2 separate regions of the Homo sapiens genome follow, and region 2 is linked to region 1. Evidence: promoter capture Hi-C in 16 types of primary human blood cells and fetal thymus (Javierre and others, 2016). All regions are on one chromosome and are shown on one strand. The core of a region is centred on a gene start or on the middle of the fragment in contact, and the rest is flanking DNA. Distances in the headings are between cores, read along the strand shown.

Region 1 (3,325 bases), core at 555-3,054:
CCAACATGGTGAAACCTCGTCCCTACTAAAAATACAAAAAAAATTAGCCGGGCGTGGTGGCAGGTGCCTGTAGTCCCAGCTACTAGGGAGGCTGAGGCAGGGGAATGGCGTGAACCCGGGAGGCGGAGCTTGCAGTGAGCTGAGATGGTGCCACTGCACTCCAGCCTGGGCGACAGAGCAAGACTCCATCTCAAAAAAAAAAAAAAGTGCAAAATGATCACGAAGGCCAAGCTGGGCCTTGGTGTCTGCGAATTCCCTGCAGTAGGTCCCTCCTGCTGCCCCGTCCAGGCGCCCACAGGATGCTCCACATGACTCTTTACCTTTATGATTTTCTTACCTCCAGGAAAGAACAGGGTCAGCTCGTCCACCCAGAGCTGGAGGGACTGTTGGGGGACCACGCCACTTCCCCACGGTATCCGCATTATTATGGCGTGGCCCAGGCTTTGGCCTGGGGCCATGAACAGACTTTCAGCTTCTAGAAGCAAGTGGTCACAGGGCCTCCGTGACCCTCGGAGACAGCGCCACAGCGTCGGTTGCCTACTCCTTGCTGGACAAGGCTGGCTCTGCTTGGGAATGCAGAAACCCTGAGTCCTTGTCCTGGGCCCCACAGTGTCTGAGCATCGAAGGTCCCTGCTCTGGGACGAGTCACCCCACAGACACCCCACATTCGGGAATCAAGTCTTGAGGAATCAGAAGCAGAGATTCACACTGTGGCAAAGAGGGGAGCGGAGGTATCCCCGTTTTCCTTTGCAGAGAGCTACACCAACTGCCCTCTTCGTCTTTACAACCCTACTTGGGGTCCCTTTCCCTCCTCGCTTGTGCCTGTGAGTTCCAAGAGGTGGAACTGGGGTGAGCAGAGCCCCCAGGTCTCCAGGAGCAGCTCCACCTCCTCACAGGTTACAGTCGCTTCCTCCTACCGAGGTTCTGCCTTCAACCCACTGCCCATGCCAGCTCCCTCAGGCCAGTCTCCCAGACTGTCCCTGGCTCCCTGCACCCTGGCTCCAGCTCCCTGCCCTGGAAAGAAGAAGTCCACCATCTGGTGAGGGTCTGCCACGCATCTGGGGTCTGCCATGCGTCTGCACTGAGGTTCTGCCACGAGTCTGCACTGAGGTTCTGCCATGCGTCTGGAGTCTGCCACGCGTCTGGGGTCTGCCACGCGTCTGGAGTCTGCCATGGGTCTGGGGTCTGCCATGTGTCTGGGATCTGCCGTGCGTCTGGGGTCTGCCACGCATCTGCACTGAGGTTCTGCCACGCGTCTGGGGTCTGCCACGCGTCTGGGGTCTGCCACGCGTCTGGGGTCTGCCACGCGCCTGCACTGAGCAGATATTCCAAGCACACCACCCCTTTCCAAAAGACGGCATACAGTGCATTTCTGTTCCTGCCCCTCACCCACATGGTTCCCCGCTTCCCAATTCCTTGGGGTCTGCTTAAGTCTCACTCTCTTTCCCCCATTCATACAGCCCCAAGGTCGCTCCCTCTGGGGCCCTTTCTTCCCCATTCTTCCCAGCAGCCCAAAGCTCTGGTGGGACAGGGGCAGCCCCTGGGGAGGGAGGAGAGGACCCAGGAACCCGGCTAGGAGGGTGGCCCACCCATTTCCAGTGTGACCTGTTCCCATTCCCCCATGTCTCCTCCCATCCCTCCCGCCACTCAGCTCAGGCTGATGAGAAGCAGAGCAACGGGTGTATCGGTGTTTTCTTTCCTGGTGGGGTAGTGGGGTGGGGCTGAGGAGAGAAAAGGGTGATTAGCGTGGGGCCCCGCCCTCTTTTGTCCTCTTCCCAGGTTCCCTGGCCCCTTCGGAGAAACGCACTTGGTTCGGGCCAGCCGCCTGAGGGGACGGGCTCACGTCTGCTCCTCACACTGCAGCTGCTGGGCCGTGGAGCTTCCCCAGGGAGCCAGGGGGACTTTTGCCGCAGCCATGAAGGGGGCACGCTGGAGGAGGGTCCCCTGGGTGTCCCTGAGCTGCCTGTGTCTCTGCCTCCTTCCGCATGTGGTCCCAGGTAAGTGATGGAGACAGCAGATGAGGCTGGCTGCGGGGAGCACTTGGGGGAGGTGGGAGCTGTCAGAGAAAGAGGTCCGGGGAGACAGAGAGAGAGAGAGAGAGAATAGGGGAAAGGGAGACAGCGAAGAGGAAGAGAAGGGAGAGAAAAAGAGGGAGAGGGAAAGGAGAAAGAGATGAATGGGACAACATGGGGGGAAGGTGGAGAGAGACCCAGAGAGGGAAAGAAGAGGAAGAGAAGAGGGAGAGAGAAAGAAGAGTGGAGGCCGTGCGCGGTGGCTCATGCCTGTAATCCCAGCACTTTCGGAGGCCAAGGCAGGAGATCACCTGAGGTCAGGAGTTCGAGACCAGCCTGGCCGACATGGTGAAACCCCGTCTCTACTAAATATACAAAAATTAGCCGGTCGTGGTGGGCCCCACCTGTAATTCCAGCTACTCAGGAGTCTGAGGCAGGAGAATCACTTGAACCTGGGAGGTGGAGGTTGCAGTGAGCCAAGATCGCGCCACTGCACTCCAGCCTGGGAGAGAGAGCGAGACTCTGTCTCAAAATAAATAAATAAATAAATAAATAAATAAATAAATAAATAAATATAAAATAAAATAAAAAATAAGAAGAGGAGAAAAGTGGGGAAGAGGAGGCATGAACTGGCAGATACGGGACAAGATCTGAGGGGAAAGACAGAGGGAGAATGCTCGAAAGAGAGAGAAAAGAGAACAGAGGGCCAGAGAGCAGCCCGGCGATGTCTGGAAGGATCCATGGTGAGAGCCCAGGCTTACTCGCAGAGAGAAAGACAGGCAGAGCCAGAGCAAGAGGAACAGAGTCAAGGAGAAAGATGTACACCCTTGTGTACAGAGCTGGGGGTAGAGGGGATGCCAGGAAAGCTGGGTGATGGAGACGGAAGAAAACTCATGTAAAGCTGCAGGGTGAGAGGACGAGACAGGTGAGACGCAGACAAACTGAGGACCCTGGGAATGGAGAGAGGAGAAGATCGGGAGACAGCAGCAAGCAAGGGAAGCGACAAGGAGGAGAGGGGCAGGCCGGCCGGGAGGGTGGTGCGGAGGAGGCGGCCAGGGCGCAGAGGGCCGGGAGGTGCTGGCCGTGGGCTTCTTACCTCTGAGCTCGGGTTTAAAAGCCTCCATTTGGGTCACGGCCTTGCCTGGGGCTCGTAGCCCCGGCATTGGCCTTGGGCTCCTCCGTGTACAGAGCTGGGAGGGGAGGGATGCCAGGCCTGTGGGAGATGTTCCCTCGGGGGCCCCCGTCCTCTTCCCCACACTTTCCAGGCTGTCCCTCTGGCTTCAGGACCAAGTTTTATTCTGTGTTTCTGGGTG
Region 2 (3,615 bases), core at 486-2,985, 230 kb after region 1:
CTATTTTTGAAAGGTCAGGAAGCTTTTTAGGGAAAAGTGTCATCTGATCAGGGACCTGGAGTGGGGAAGGGAGCTACACAGAGCTCTTAGGGGAGGGCAGCACAGGAGGTCAGCGAGAGGCAGGCCCTGGGTGGTAGTAGGAATTTCTTATGTTTCTGAAAAGGCAAAGAACATCTTAAAGAAAGCGCTCACAACGTTTGGGATGTTACGGATCTGTGTTGTTGTTTTCATGTTTATAGACTCAGTGCTGTAAATGTATCTCTGTTGCTTACATATTTTAGAATGAATTTCATTTAGGAGTCTAAGTCTACTACGAAGGCACTGCCTTATCTAAATGTCTCTAAACATACCTCCTGCCTATCACAAAGACATAGAATCTCACTCACAAGAGTCAAAGTTGTTCATTCCACCAGGAGAGATAAGGCTGGACCAAAAGCACCCCTGGGTTTAAGTCCACACTCCCCACCACCCCGGCCCCCACCCCCAAGCAGTGACAGACTGTCTTGAACTTCTCGCTGCAAGGGTCATAAAAGGGACAGAGAACAGAGCGACAGAAGATGTCTTCTGCATTCTCAACTTTTAGCCCCAGTTGTTAGAGAACTGGTATCTCCCCTACACGTCTGGCTCTGGTGGAGAAAGAATGACAGCCCCTACTTACAACGAGGAGACTGTGGCTCAGAGAAGTTAGGGGGCTGCCCAGGATCCTGGAGAAAGCCAGCTTTGACTCATAACCCTCGCGCCATTACCTGACTCCCATTAGTGGAGTCAGGAACTCCATGTTCCACTTCAGGAAATGAGCTTGTTGATTTTTCATTTACACAAAAATGAAAAATAAATACCAGATGTTTGAAAACATGTTGCAACACGTCCTGCTGGAACTTAAAAGTGCATTCTGACCAAAAAAATTAAATTAGAAAATCCACATAGCAAAAAAAAAAATGTTTTGGATGAAAATATACTTTATCTTTCTCTCACACATACTCTCTCTCTCTCTCGCACACATACCCACACACACACACACACACACACACGCGCGCGCGAAAACAATATCTCATTTCTTCTTCAGGGAGCAGCTGTGAAGGAAATCGGGGGAGGAGGATGGACACAACATCCCATCTTTGTGTTTCGATACAGACTAAGCTTTTAGGCCAACCCTCCTGACTGGATGGGGGCGGCGGGCGTGGCATGCATGAAAAGTAAACATCAGAGACCTGAAGAAGCTTATAAAATAGCTTGGGAGAGGCCAGTCACCAAGACAGGCATCTCAAATCGGCTGATTCTGCATCTGGAAACTGCCTTCATCTTGAAAGAAAAGGTATGTACTGTAGTTTTAAGCTTTTCATTTATGATAATAATGTCTAAAATAGAAACAGTCTAGACTCTCCATTGCCCCATTTCAGCTACATATAACTACCACTGATTGAGAGCTTGTGCCGGTAGCTTTAGACTTGTTCTCATTTTTCCTCAAACAAATGTACAAGGTAGGTATCATCAGAGCCATTTTTCCAGTGATAAAGCTGAGGTTCAGATACACTAGCAACATGCCTAAGATAAAACCAAACCCAGTGTGAACTCATCCCAGCGTCTTTTGCTTACCCCTCCAAACTGGACAACGAGGTGTTTCCATGCACAAACACCGTCCTAGGTGAATTCTCAGCAAGCTGTCCAACGGTGCATCGCAGTAAAATAATCTGGAAACTGGAATTAATGGTGTGACTAGAAAATGCATTTGACAATATGGCATAAAATATTGTGTTTGGGAGATACGTGTCTTGTTATATTTAATGGCTAAATGAGTCTTTGAGACCTAATGACTTATTGGAACCTATTTTATTTTATGAGGTGAAATTTCAAAATCTAGTCCTTCACGTTCTGCAGATCTTTGAGGTCAGGGGCTGTGTCCCCAGGCACTAAGAGCGCGGGCTTGTGGGAGACCTAGGCTTACATTCTAGCCTGTCCCCAGGCCTAGGCTTACACTGTGGCTTCGTAGTTTACCAGGAAGTAACCCGGGCAAATTCACCTCGTTGGTATGAAGAGAGTGTCAGCAGAGGTCGCCTCCAGAGGAGGTGCTGTGGAGACTGAGCGCATAGCACCCTTAAAATCCTGGGACCAGGGCTTCTCCACGGGTAAGCTTAATGCAAGTGGAGCAGTGATTTCCAGCTAGTGCCAGGCCCAAGGTGGATGCACTGTCACCTTAGTTGGATTGCTTTTTAATTACCTCATATTCTGTTAAAAATCATATTTCTTTTTTTTTTTTTTTGAGACGGAGTCTCACTCTGTCACCCAGGCTGGAGTGCAGTGGCGCGATCTCGGCTCACTACAGCCTCCGCCTCCCAGGTTCAAGCCATTCTTGTGCCTCAGCCTCCCAAGTAGCTGGGATTACAGGACTGCACCACCATGCCCAGCTAATTTTTGTATTTTTTGTTTGTTTGTTTTTGTTTTGTTTTTTTGAGATGGAGTTTTTGCTCTGTTGCCCAAGCTAGAGTGCAATGGTGTGATCTTGGCTTACTGCAACCTCTGCCTCCCATGTTCAAGCAATTATCCTGCATCAGCCTCCCGAGTAGCTGTGATTACAGGTACTTGCCACCACACCTGGCTAATTTTTTGTATTTTTAGTAGAGACGGGGTTTCGCCATGTTGGCCAGGCTGGTCTCAAACTCCTAACCTCAAGTGATCTGCCCACCTCGGCCTCCCAAAGTGTTGGGATTACAGGCATTAGCCATCATGCCCGGCCAAAAATAATATTTAAATTATACTTATTTTGTAAAGTATTTAAACTCCTCATAAGAACAATCTTCCTATTGATATCAGAAGAAGATGCAAAAATATATGTCGTATATAATCCATATGTTACCCAAAGTCTTAAGTACACATTAATAACATGCTCAATAAGTAATGAGTAAATTAGAATGAAAGGACATTGAAAACTATAATGGATGCTGTCCGCCCTTTCTCTCACAAGGAGTTTTTTTGTTGTTGTTGTTTGTTTGCTTGTTTTGAGACGGAGTTTTGCTCTTGTTGCCCAGGCTGGAGTGCAATGATGCAATCTCAGCTCACCACAACCTCCACCTCCCGGGTTCAAGCAATTCTCCTGCCTCAGCCTCCCGATTACAGGCATGCATGTAATTACAGGCAGCATGGGATTACAGGCATGCACCACCATGCCCAGCTAATTTTTTTATTTTTAGTAGAGATAGGGTTTCTCCATGTTGGTCAGGCTGGTCTTGAACTCCCAACCTCAGGTGCTCCACCTGCCTCGGCCTCCCATGGGATTACAGGCTTGAGCCACCGCACCTGGCATCACAAGGAGTTTTAACCACAGGAATAAAACTAATGTAACCAAGAGGCATCTTTGGAAGAGGGTCAGTCAAAGGGGTTGTTCTGAAATCCTCCTACTGAGGTAAAGAATCTGTTTCAGCTCACAAGAGAGCATTTTGTCAGAGTAAGATGTAGAACTGACTTTTGTTGCAGTGTCATGTGGTGGTGAGACTCATCAGGTCACAGAGGTGGGGGGTTATTGAAAGGCCCTATGGCGGTGCACAGAAGAAGCAGATTCGGGGTGCTGCAGACAGGAGAGGGGGAGATGGAGCTCGAGTCCCAGCTCTCTGCCCCTTC

The links. The method cuts DNA at HindIII sites, captures the fragments that hold promoters and counts their contacts. A CHiCAGO score of 5 or more calls a contact.
Region 2: a contact is called between a fragment that was not itself captured here and the fragment with the promoter of MUC4 in region 1, in 1 of 17 cell types (M0 macrophages). The highest score is 5.4, in M0 macrophages.

Annotation. Positions count from the first base shown.
Region 1 is chr3:195,810,408-195,813,732 of GRCh38, reverse strand. MUC4 (mucin 4, cell surface associated) reads left to right here and starts at 1,804. Exons shown (of 25, transcript NM_018406.7): 1 at 1,804-1,997. The coding sequence starts at 1,916. The HindIII fragment of the contact is 16,144 bases long and covers 1-3,325 here.
Region 2 is chr3:195,581,578-195,585,192 of GRCh38, reverse strand. It overlaps APOD (apolipoprotein D), which reads left to right and starts at 1,253. Exons shown (of 5, transcript NM_001647.4): 1 at 1,253-1,315. RefSeq lists an enhancer at 1,633-1,802. The HindIII fragment of the contact is 796 bases long and covers 1,338-2,133 here.